2 separate regions of the Homo sapiens genome follow, and region 1 is linked to region 2. The links are contacts of gene promoters, found by promoter capture Hi-C in human tissues and cell types (Jung and others, 2019). All regions are on one chromosome and are shown on one strand. The core of a region is centred on a gene start or on the middle of the fragment in contact, and the rest is flanking DNA. Distances in the headings are between cores, read along the strand shown.

Region 1 (6,127 bases), core at 3,010-5,509, 1.4 Mb before region 2:
CACGCTTGCTCTGAAAAGCGCCGAGCGTGGAAGGGTGTCTTGGAATGGGGTCTAAAAGGGAGAACGACATCCTTATGACTTGCTTTAGGCTGCTTTCTGGATGTATTTTCAGAGCTGGGGATGAGGAGAGGTTGCGTAAAGGTGCCGGCCTGCTGCTGGCCGGGGCTGGCAGCCTTTCAGCCGCCGCGGGTGAGTCAACACCTGGGAATTGCATCCAAGGGCGGCCCTTTCAAGCTGCCTGGAACTTTCTGCCATCACACTGAGGCCACTGTTTGACCCAGTCCCGGGCCAGGGAGGCAGGAGCCGATCACGTCCCAGGGCAGTGCTTCTCCCTGGCACTGAGTCCGTGGAAAGAGGCTGGGAAGGTTCTTTCCACACTTGAGGGCTGGCGTTGGGAAAATAGGGTAGTGCTCTCCGCCCCAGTGAACAGCAAGAGCTCACTTCCCCCAGCAGACTTCTGCTCCACTGGCCTACTTTCAGCATGGAGTGGAAGGAAGCCAGCTCCAGGAGGGCAGAGGCTTCCTCTCCACCCCTCTCTTCCACAACCTTCAACAGGCGCCTTGTTCTCCCCGGCCAGGGAACTGCGGATGGTGACCATCGTTTCCCAGCCCAGCAAGGGGAAATGAGGGGAGGAAATAAACGCAGGGTTTTTATTGCCAAATATTTCTTTCCCTGGGAGGACAACGCATTCAAACCGCTGAGTGGAGATTGGAGTTAGTCCAGCCATAAACCATCTTAATGAACACTAATAGAGAACCGCAATTATTGTTGACTTCAAAATGCAAACAAGAACTTTAGACAGTGATCCCTATCAGCCGGTGAGGCCGGGCACAGATGCCGGGCGCTGTTTTTGCCGTTGCTTAGCAATGGAAAATGAACTGTTCCTGTCTGTTACCACTGGAGGTGGAGGTAGGACAATGAGCTTTATTGGACAGAATAGGTATGAAATTAGTTTATTCTTTTTCACTTGGAGAAGGCAATTGGCAGCCAAGAGAGTCACTCGGAAAAGGGGTATTTTAGAGGTTGAGGGTGACTTTCCTTCTCATTACTTCGGTAAATCCTAACCACCTTGTTTTCCTCTACAGATAAAGTTTGAACTTTTGCCGGGAGTGTCCCTCCAAAACGATCATCAATCAGACAGAATAGCTGCAAATACCAACTCACAGACCAGGTTGGGAATTAGGGTGAGGAGAATGAAATCTTGGGTGCAAAATTTAAGGGAATGCCAAAAAACTTAGTAGCCAGGATAAATAATAGTTTAATGCAATATTTTTTAAAAGTCAAAATAAATGTAAAATAACCATGGTAAAAAAAAAAATCAGATTTGAAATAAAGAGAAGCTCAATATCACTGATTTTTATTTTTCCTTTGGCTTCAGGCTTTAATATGGCACAGTGCGTCAGTGCCACAGACTTTTTACCGCACCAAACACATTTGCAACACGGACAGTTTTGGGAGCTGCTTTTTCCTCAGCAGTGTTGATGCTATGGAGTACAGAGCCCTGTAGCTGGGCAGAAGGGAGTGTCTCTTTCTGCAGTTCTTTAGTAGGCTTCTTCCAGGATAGTAGAGAGGCAAATGGTCTTGGGGAGGAACCTACCTATGCTTCCAGGGCAGTGACACAGGAAGTACTAAGGTACAGGAAGTACTAAAAACCCAGGGCTCAGCAAACACAGACAGTCAGGTGAAATTGCCCAAAACACTGTTCCTCAGACAACAGGGACAGGCCCAGAGCTGGCAGTTTATGGTAAAATTATCTCCTCTTTTGTTATTGGTATTAATAGTAACTCCTATATATTGAGAACCCTTAGGTGGAATCACATGGAATCGCCAATATTGAACCTTTTTTGACCTACAAACCCAATGTATATGGTTTAATCCAATGTATGCTGAGTATGGGAGGCTGAATAATGAACCCCAAAGATGTCCACATCCTAATCCCTGGAACCTGTGAATATTACCCTATATGGCAAAAAGGATTTTGCAGATGTGATTGAATTAAGGATTCTTTTTTTCTTATTTTAGTGATAGGGTCTTGCTATGTTGCCTCGGCTGGAATGCAGTGGCTGTTCATAGACATTATCACAGCACACTACAGTCTCAAACTCCTGGACTCAAGCAATCCTCCTGCCTCAGCCTCCTGAGTAGCTAGGACTACTGGGATGCACTACTGCTCTTGGCAAATTAAGGATTTTGAGATGGAGAGACTATCCTGGATTATCTGATGGGCTTAATCATTGACAAAGGTTCTTATATAAGGAAAAGTCAATGTGATAATGGAAGCAGATTTGAAGATGCTGTGCAACTGGCTTTGAAGATGGAGGACGGGGCCACAAGCCAAGGATTGTTGGCAGCCTCTAAGCTGGAAGAGGTAAGAAGCATATTCTCCTGTGGCACCTCCGGGAGAAATGCAGTACTGCCTATACCTTGACTTTAGCCAAGTGAAACTAATTTTAGACTTCTCACCTCCAGAACTGTAAGATAATAAATTTGTGTTGATTTAAGACACTATGTTTGTGGTAATTGGTTACAGCAATAGGAAACTAATAGACCAGGCATTATGTTAAGTGCTTTATATCATTAAAGAAATGTATACAAATCCACCCTCAGCCTTCTCGATGACTTTCTGTGTTTGGGTTATTTCCTCTCTTTTGCATCCTCAATTTCCCTTTTCTTAGTGGGTCTTTTCCATTGGCATATACACATGCTTTCCTGTTTATCGCCTTCAAGAACAAAATCAAAAAAAAGACCTAATAACATCCACTCACGATTTTTTAAAAAATTAGTGAACTAGAAATAGAAATTTCTTCAACCTAATGCAGAATTTCTACCAAACATCCGTAACAAACATCATACTTAAAGGTTAACAGTTTTTTTTTAATCCCCACTTCTATTCAATACTGTACTGAGGGTACTAGCCAGAACAATAAACCAAGAAAAAGAAACAAAAGATATAACACTTGGAATCAAAGAAGAAAAACAGATATTCACTGAAGGTGCTAAATGACGAGTGAAGCACACCAACATAGCACATGTATACATATGTAACAAACCTGCACGTTGTGCACATGTACCCTAAAACTTAAAGTATAATAATAATTTAAAAATAAAAAAAGATTATTTTCATAAAAAAACTCAAGGAATCTACAGCTAAATTATTAGCATTAATAAGTGAGTTTAGTAAGTTTAAGGGATAAAAGATCAATATTCAAAAGCAGTTGATTTTCTATACACCAGCAACAAAGAGATAAGAAATATAATTTAAAAAACAGTTTCCAGTTGCAACAGCAGCAAATAAGTAGGGGAAAAGTGGGCAGAGAGAAAGAGAGAGGCAGAGAGAAAGAGCGAGACAGAGAGAGAACAAACCTAGGAGTAGATCTGTCAAAAGATGTGTGGCTGGGCACGGTGGCTCATGCCTGTAATCCCAGCACTTTGGGAGGCCAAGGCAGGTGGATCACGAGGTTAGGAGTTCAAGACCAGCCTGGCCAACACAGTGAAACCCCGTCTCTACTAAAAATACCAAAAAAAAAAAAAAAAAAAAAAAAAAATTAGCCAGGCGTGGTGGCACACACCTGTAATCCCAGCTACTCAGGAGGCTGAGGCAGGAGAATTGCTTAAACTGGGGAGGTGAAGGTTGCAGTGAGCCAAGATCACACCACTGCACTCCAGCCTGGGTGACAGAGCAAGATTCCATCTCGGGGTGGTGGTGGGGGGAAAGAGGTACAAGTCTTTCATGGAAAAAAATACATAAAATTTCATCAAAAGGTATAAATAAATGGTTTATAAATTCAGTTCAGTTCAATCAACATTCAAATAGGCTTTTCTTCATGGAATTTGACAAGCTTTTTAAAAAATTAGCATAAAAAAGCAAAGGACGAAGAAGAGCCAACAAAGAAAGTAGGGAGTCTTGTCTATTAGATGTCAGACTTACTTCACAGTCAATAGTAATTAAGACAATGTGGTATTTACATAGATCAAAATCTAAATCAGAATGGAATAAAGAGCCCAGAAACACATATAGAAGTGTGATGTAAGCCAGCACTAATATTGCAGATCCAAAGGGGAAAGGATAAATTAGTCAAAAAGAGGGGGAAAAATAAATATATACACTATAAAGAAACAAATTCTTATTGATAAAATAAAAAAAGAGAAAGATGAACAGTTTAAAAATTTAGAATATATTATATAAAGGATTTTAACCTGGGTTCCACAGACATCCACTGGTTTGTTGAGCATAATTCAGTACATTCATGATCATGGATAGGAAAAAAATTAATGTTTATTTTCACAAATCCCAAACTGAAAAATTAAAGATTCAATTATGATCATGGACAACAGACCATAGTAGCCTTGCAGTATCTGTGACTTTGCCACTAATAAAAATACAGATAGGTTTATGTCGTATTATAGTTATTGCAGGTATCTCATAATATTATTTATGCACTCAGTACTTGGAAATTTACAGCAGTTATTAGATATTCTGCTAAATCTTGATATTTAATGCATTAAGAAGGAGCACATGTGTTATATATCATCACTTTAAATATTTTAATAACTATATTTCAGCATAATTGGTTTTCTTTGTAATTCTATGAGTTTCATTTTTTACCTTTACCAACATGACAAAGGGTCCACGGCATTAAAATGGTTTAAAAATCATATTACAGAAAAAATTGTATTATAGAAGAATATTCATATGACCTCAGCATATACAGAAAGATTTCCTAAACAAGGCAAAAGAGGAAGCCATAAATGAATAGAGTGATAAATTTGATTACATTAAAATTATAAACTTTTTCTATCAAAATATATAATACTATAAAGAAACTAAAAGATATGTCACAAACAGAGAGAAGAGATCTGCTTCATCTACTTAACAAAGGATTAGTATCTGGAATATCTGAAGTCTACAAATCAATAAAGAAAAGACAGACAATTCAATCTTTTAAAGGACAACATTGTATGGTCTTCTGGGAAAGACCATACAATGACCAATAAACATTTGAAAAAATGGTCAACCTCAGTACATTGAGAAAAGGTAGTTTAAGACAAGGAGCTACTTACTATTTAATAACCACATTGTCCCAGGTGAATATTTTTAAAGTATCTGGCAATACCAAGTGTTGGCAAAGATAGAGAGCCAGGGGGACTTTTACATGCTGCTAATGGGAATATAAATTGTTGTTTTGGGAAAACCGTTTGGCTTTTTTTGTTTGTTTGTTTGTTTTTTTTGAGACAGAGTCTCGCTCTATTCCCCAGGCCAAAGTACAGTGGTGTGATCTTGGCTCACTGCATCCTCCACCTCCCGGGTTCAAGCGATTCTCATGCCTCAGCCTCCTGAGGAGCTGGGATTACAAGCGCGTGCCACCACGCCCAGCTAATTTTTGTATTTTTAGTTGAGATGGGGTTTTGCCATGTTGGCCAGGCTGGTCTTGAACTCCTGACCTCAGGTGATCCATCCGCCTAGGCCTTCCAAATTGCTGGGATTACAGGTGTGAGCCACCGCGCCCAGCCGTGGCATTATTTTTAAGGTGGAAGATGCACATACCCTAAACCCAGTAAAACCCTTGCATATGTGCACTAGGAGTCACATTCAACCCAACTTGCCAAGAATGGAAGAATGGATGCATAAATTGTGGTGTAGTCACAAAGTGTAATATAATGCTATTGTGAAAATAAAGTAACCACAGCCACATCCATTCACATGTATGAATCTCAACCCTGATGTTGAGTGAAGAAAGCAAATTTCAAAAAAAAAAAAAAAAGCAAACAATGTGATTCAATTTATACAAAGTTGAAGAAATAAGCCAAAAAGAATTGTTTTCCAGTGTTGAATGTAGAACACTTGAACTTTCCACTCCATCCAAACAAGCAAAAAGCTAAAGAAACTAGAAAATCAAGAACTCTTAGATCTGTAGCAGAAATGAGAGCTCAGGGCACACTGCTGTCCCCAGAACTGGAGAGACAGACAGGTGGATACAGACAATCACAACATACTACAGCAAAAACCTCCATGGGAACCAGTGCTGGGGACATTGTATCTCGCTATCATGAAAAAATTCCAAAGCATGCTAAAAGATAAAAACACAGTTTGAAGAGACAGAGTAAGTCAGAACCAGACATAATACAG
Region 2 (5,758 bases), core at 3,037-5,536:
ACACTCCATATTCCTTATGTAAAAATAGAGCCATTACTACATTCCTATGATCGTATTTTAAATTATTGGGTAAGAAGTATCTCTTTATAAACCAAATTTTCATCTTAATCTTTGCCACTTCTGCCTCCTACCCCAAATTAAAATAAAAATAAATTCTACTACATTGCAGGAGATAGTTATAATGTAATGCTTAAGTGCTTGGGCTCTCAGCTAGATTTTTGGGTTCCACTTAAATTAGGCAAGTCACTGACTCGTTCAGTGCCTCAGTTCCTTTGTAAGAATAATGATACCTGTTTCACAGGATGGGTAGGAGGATGAAATAATACATTTAGCACAAGGCCTGGCCATAGTCAATGCTGAGTAATTATTTTTTATTTTTATTTTTTGAGACAGAGTCTTGTACTGTTGCCCAGGCTGGAGTGCAGTGGTGCGATCTCTGCTGACTGCAACATCTGCCTCCCAGGTTCAAGCGATTCTCCTGCCTTAGTCTTCTGAATAGCTGGGATTACAGGTGCCTGCCACCACGCCCAGCTTATTTTTTGTATTTTTAGTAGAGACAGGGTTTCACTATGTTGGCCAGGCTGGTCTTGAACTCCTGACCTCATGATCCACATGCCTCAGCCTCCCAAGGTGCTGGGATTACAGGTGTCAGCCACCATGCCGAGCAAGTAATTGTTATTTTTAAACTATTTCCATTTCTCCATTTGCATTCTCCATTTCTCCATCTTCAATATATGTATATGTGTGTATACATATATATGACAGAGGTTATATATGTATATGTTATAATCATATAACCTCAGACACAGGGTTTCACAGCTAGAAGGAATTTCTACATCAAGTACAAAACTCTTGTTACATCTGTGTCCTTTCTGTCAGATTCAGAGGGTTAGAGTGATTTGGTTAGTGACGGAAATGATACTTAAACATGAGATTCCTGGCTTGAGGCTGCATCGTTTTTACTTTTCTTCCATTTACTTTTATCTTATTTAAATAACTTCCTATAGAACAATTTCCTTTAAATATGAAATGTTCCATAGGTTTTTGGTTCTCAGTAAATTATGATATTACAATAATGCGGTTTATTCTCCTGATTGCTGATCTCTTCATAAATTAGGACGTGTATTCACTTAAAGCAGTCTATTTGATAATGAAAACCCAGTGATTTCTAAATAGGCAGTCAGAAGAATCTGCTTTATGAAACAGACAAACCCCTAACATTGGGCCTTTAAAATGTTCGGATATCAAGACCACGAATATATTATCTAAATTAGAGCCCCTGAGCAAGGACTCAAGCTCTATTTTATGCCCCATCCCTGACTCACAGTAAGATCCTGGGCAAGTCACTTGACCTTCTTATATTTCAGAGTGTCAAACTGTGAAAAGCATGTCCATAAAACTGTGCAAGCATGACCTCATTATAAACCCGATGAACTTGAAAGCAAAGATGTGCTTTGATACATTAAAGAATTACCAAAATAGAACTCTAGTTTGTAAAATATGAAGAATCAGGAAAATAAATTTTACTATACTAAGTAAAAGGATTCTGAAATGTACAGTTTTTAGCAAGTAAAGTCATAAAAAGTTTCAAAATGTTATATTTAGGTGAAATAAGGTTAATGACAGAGGAAAAATATTATTTTAGAGAATGCTTGGCTTTCAAAACCATAGATTGTAGCAACTTAACCAAAATAATCACAAGGAATGGAAGACTATCAGAAACGAGTAGATCCTTAATAATTAAACACATTTCTAGGCCATTATTTCCCCCTACTTATACAATGCATATCATGTTTTAAAATGTATTTCACTGGCTGGGAGCGGTGGCTCACACCTGTAATCCCAGCACTTTGGGAGGCCGAGGCAGGTGGATCACTTGAAGTCAGGAGTTCGAGACCAGCCTGGCCAACATGGTGAAACCCCATCTCTACTAAAAATACAAAAATTAGCCAGGCGTGGTGGCAGGCACCTGTACCTGTAATCCCAGCTACTCAGGGGGCTGAGGCAGGAGAATCGCTTGAACCCACAAGGCGAAGGTTGCAGTGAGCTGAGATTGCACCACTGCACTCCAGCCTGGGCAACAGAGTGAGGCTCTGTCTCAAAAAAAAAAGAAAAAATGTATTTCACTAACTACTATATGAAAAGCCCCAGAGAAAGAATACCAATACCCTTAGGAAAGAAGCAGTTTTAGTATTATTATTATTATTGGATGGAGTCTCGCTCTGTCACCAGGCTGGAATGCGATGGCGCTATCTTGGCTCACTGCAACCTCCGATGCCCTGGTTCAAGGGATTCTCCTGCCTCAGCCTACTGAAAGTAGCTGAGATTACAGGCACGCGCCACCACACCCAGCTAATTTTTGTATTTTTAGTAGAGACAAGGTTTCACTATGTTGGCCAGGATGGTCTCGATCTCCTGACCTTGTGATCCGCCTGCTTCGGCCTCCCCAAGTGCTGGGATTACAGGTGTGAGCCACCGCGCCCGGCCAAGATGCAGTTTTAATAAGGAGTTTGGCCATTTAGGCTTGTAACTGACTGGATTATTGCATATTCTTTAAAATTAATTTGTATTAGTCCCTTTTCTTCTATTTCCTTATCTCCAACTCTCGCATTAGTATGCACGCTTTATTCCTACTCAGGTTTTCCCCTATGAGCCCAGGAGTATTATTATTATTTTTTTGCAGGGATTAGGATCAGGTTTGTGAAGTGAATAGTGTCTTTCTAATCTGCAGAGGGAAGGCAGCATCCCCTGGCTTGCTGCTGCAGCCTCTCTTTAAATTAAACAGCAGGTTCACTCTTTCTGCGGCATTCCAGAAGGAACATCAGTAGGAACAGCTCCACAGATGCTGACGTCTTGTCTAAGGTTATCCCAAGAAGTCCTGTGGCATTTGCAATGTGCCTGTACATTTTTCCTTTTTTAAAAAACATATTCCTGCAGACTTTGTTGAAAGCAGAAACAAACACAAGCAAGCAAAGCCCTTTCTAGCACAGCATGTTAATCACACACTTTGCCATATTCTGTGAAACAGTAAGCAAATGATAACCTCCAACTGTTGCCCGGGCCCTGTAAAACAGAAGATCAAATTCTGTGTTCTGCCTTGGCAAGAAAAGAAACTGCAGCATTTTGTCTAGATTTTTACAAGTCCTGGGGTTCACATTACTGGCTGAAATTGTTCTTTCTCTACTTTACAGAAAAATGGAAAACACTAGTAAACTTAAAGATTTAAATATTATTTTAAAAGGAATATAATAAAAAATGGAAAACACTAGTATATTTAAAGATTTAAATAGTCTTTTAAAAGGAATATAATCAAAACTGTAGTTTAAAATACAATCTAGCTCCATAAGAGAGGCAATTGGCTGTGTGTTCCACTTGTAATGCAGAGGATTTGAAGCATCTATTTTTTCCCTTGTTTCTATGGATTTATGAATAAAGACTCTGACCCTTCTCAGGATCAGGAAAATTACGAAAAATTTAAAGCCTGGGTTTAAGGTCTGTAGAAGCTGCACAGGTACACTAATTTTAGTAAGACGGGCGCCAGGAAAAAGAACAAAATAGTAGGGGAGAAATATTCAGGCATCCTAAAAAATATTCAGTGGAAACGTAAAAACATTAAAGACTGATTAAACATCGCAGCATGACACAGATTTAGCAACTGAGCATAAATAATTTGACTCGGATACTGCTCCAAAATCCGAAGAGGACCAATTTCTTCCAGGAGGACAACTACCTCGTCCTCTGCAGACCCCTCTCCTCGGCAGCTGAAGGAGTGTGGCCAATCTGCCTCCACCTCCCCGCGGACCCCCTACTCTCAGGACCTCCTGCAGCACCCCAAACTGGAAGTGGCCGCTGCAGACCCAAGGACGAGGGGCACGCGGGAGCCGGCAGCCCTAGTGGAGCGGTTGGAGATGTTGAGGTGGGAGGGTCACCCAGGTGGGGTGAGGCTGGGGTAGGTAGCGGAGTGAACGGCTTCCGAAGCTCTGGGCCGCCCCCAGGTTGGACTAAGCAGGCGCTCTGTCTTCGCCCCCGCCCAGGGTGGGCGTCTCCTGAGGACTCCCCGCCACACCTGACCCGAGACCGCGCGCCCAGCCTAGAACGCTTCCCCGACCCAGCGTAGGGCCGCCGCGACTGGCGCGCAGGGGGCGGCGGGAGGCCTGGCGAACCCGGGGGCGGGACCAGGCGGGCAAGGCCCGGCTGCCGCAGCGCCGCTCTGCGCGAGGCGGCTCCGCCGCGGCGGAGGGATACGGCGCACCATATATATATCGCGGGGCGCAGACTCGCGCTCCGGCAGTGGTGCTGGGAGTGTCGTGGACGCCGTGCCGTTACTCGTAGTCAGGCGGCGGCGCAGGCGGCGGCGGCGGCATAGCGCACAGCGCGCCTTAGCAGCAGCAGCAGCAGCAGCGGCATCGGAGGTACCCCCGCCGTCGCAGCCCCCGCGCTGGTGCAGCCACCCTCGCTCCCTCTGCTCTTCCTCCCTTCGCTCGCACCATGGTAGGTCGGGAGTGGCAAATGCCGGCGTAGCAGCTGCCCGAGATTTCTTCCCAGATTTCTAGTTGTTTTGTTTGTTTTTTGTTTGTTTTTGGTTCTTGGAGGTTTTTCTTTTCTGAGTGTTACGCAGCAGCTGCGCTTAAAGGAGGTTGCATTTTGGATTTGCATCTCGGCGACCTCTGCCAGGGAGCTTCATTTATTGGTTCCCCTTGGAGCTGGACTTGGTCGTAGGCCGTCCACGGGCAGGGGCTCCGGCCGCAACTGCAGCGGGGGTTTCTGCATCCAATCCCCCTGCCCCCCGCCCAGCCCCGCACCCACTGCATCCACTAGCGCCGCACCCGGGCTGCCTGCAGCGCAGCGTTTCGGCCTGGGAGCCGGGCGGGGCCGGGCACTAGACCCCCCCCCCCGGCCCGCCCCTCCCCACCCCGCTTCTCCGCCGGCGCGAAGGTGGCAGGTCGGGCGGGCAGTGGAGAATGAATGGGCTGGAGCTGGCCGGTGGCGCACATTGTTCCGGCCGGGTGTTGAGGGGCGCAGTCAGCGCCCGCCACCTCCCCACTTTGGCCGGCCCTGCTGGGCGCCCTCCCTCGGTCGCTCTCCCCTCCTTCTTCCCGGGGGGCGCGGCGCGGGCGTGGGCTGGGAAGGAAGGAGCCGGGGAAGGGTGGGGTTGGGGGCAGGAAGGCGAGGGGTTGGGGGCGGAGAGGGCGGAAGCGGCGGCCGGGCCGCCCTGCGCCCGGGCGGGGCCCTGCGGTGTGGCCGTGGCTTGTTCCTGCCGCTTTCGCACCCTGCGGCCCCCCACCCAGTGCAGCAGTGCGGGCGGGCGTGAGCCTCGGTGCACCAGGAGGCACTTCCCGCGGGAGGCGCTGGGCTCGCGCTAATTGGGGCGGGGGGGGGGGGCGGCGGGGGAGGAGGGAACTGGCGCGCGGCTTGGTTTCCATTAGAGACGCAAAGTTTCTGCTCCGGGAGGAGGCGGCGGCGCCGCGGGCTCGTCGCCTGGGGGAGCAGAAGCGGGTGGGAGGTGCGGGTGGCCTTGGCCTCAGCCCTGGTGCGCGGGGGCCGGGGGTGGTGACCCTCCTGGCCGAGGAGGGGCGGCGTCCAGACGCCCGCTCGGGGGCCGCCTTCCCCCCCACGCCTGCCCCCGGGCACGCGCCCTGCCCGGTCCCTCGCCCCGCGCCACTTCCAGTCCGCAGAGAGATGCCCTCCACGTTTCTGCTTTCTCTGCAGCCTCTAGATTGCCAGATGCGACTGTGCGCCTCGCTGGGTGTGTTTTCCA

Evidence for each region. Contacts are between HindIII fragments. The study calls those that stand out against the background at their distance.
Region 1: a contact is called between a fragment that was not itself captured here and the fragment with the promoter of CALM1 in region 2, in 1 of the 25 tissues and cell types used here (lymphoblastoid cells).

Annotation. Positions count from the first base shown.
Region 1 is chr14:89,040,596-89,046,722 of GRCh38, forward strand. LOC105370615 (a long non-coding RNA gene) reads left to right here. Exons shown (of 3, transcript XR_944128.3): 1 at 1-1,184; 2 at 2,023-2,368. Among named protein-coding and RNA genes, the nearest start is that of TRA-AGC15-1, 65 kb to the left of the region's middle. RefSeq lists enhancers at 184-303, 355-911. The HindIII fragment of the contact is 5,119 bases long and covers 1,701-6,127 here.
Region 2 is chr14:90,392,743-90,398,500 of GRCh38, forward strand. CALM1 (calmodulin 1) reads left to right here and starts at 4,287. Exons shown (of 6, transcript NM_006888.6): 1 at 4,287-4,491. The coding sequence starts at 4,489. RefSeq lists silencers at 3,979-4,398, 4,679-4,838, 4,849-5,398, 5,479-5,548, 5,589-5,658 and enhancers at 4,083-4,377, 4,499-4,548, 5,719-5,758. The HindIII fragment of the contact is 12,028 bases long and covers 1-5,758 here.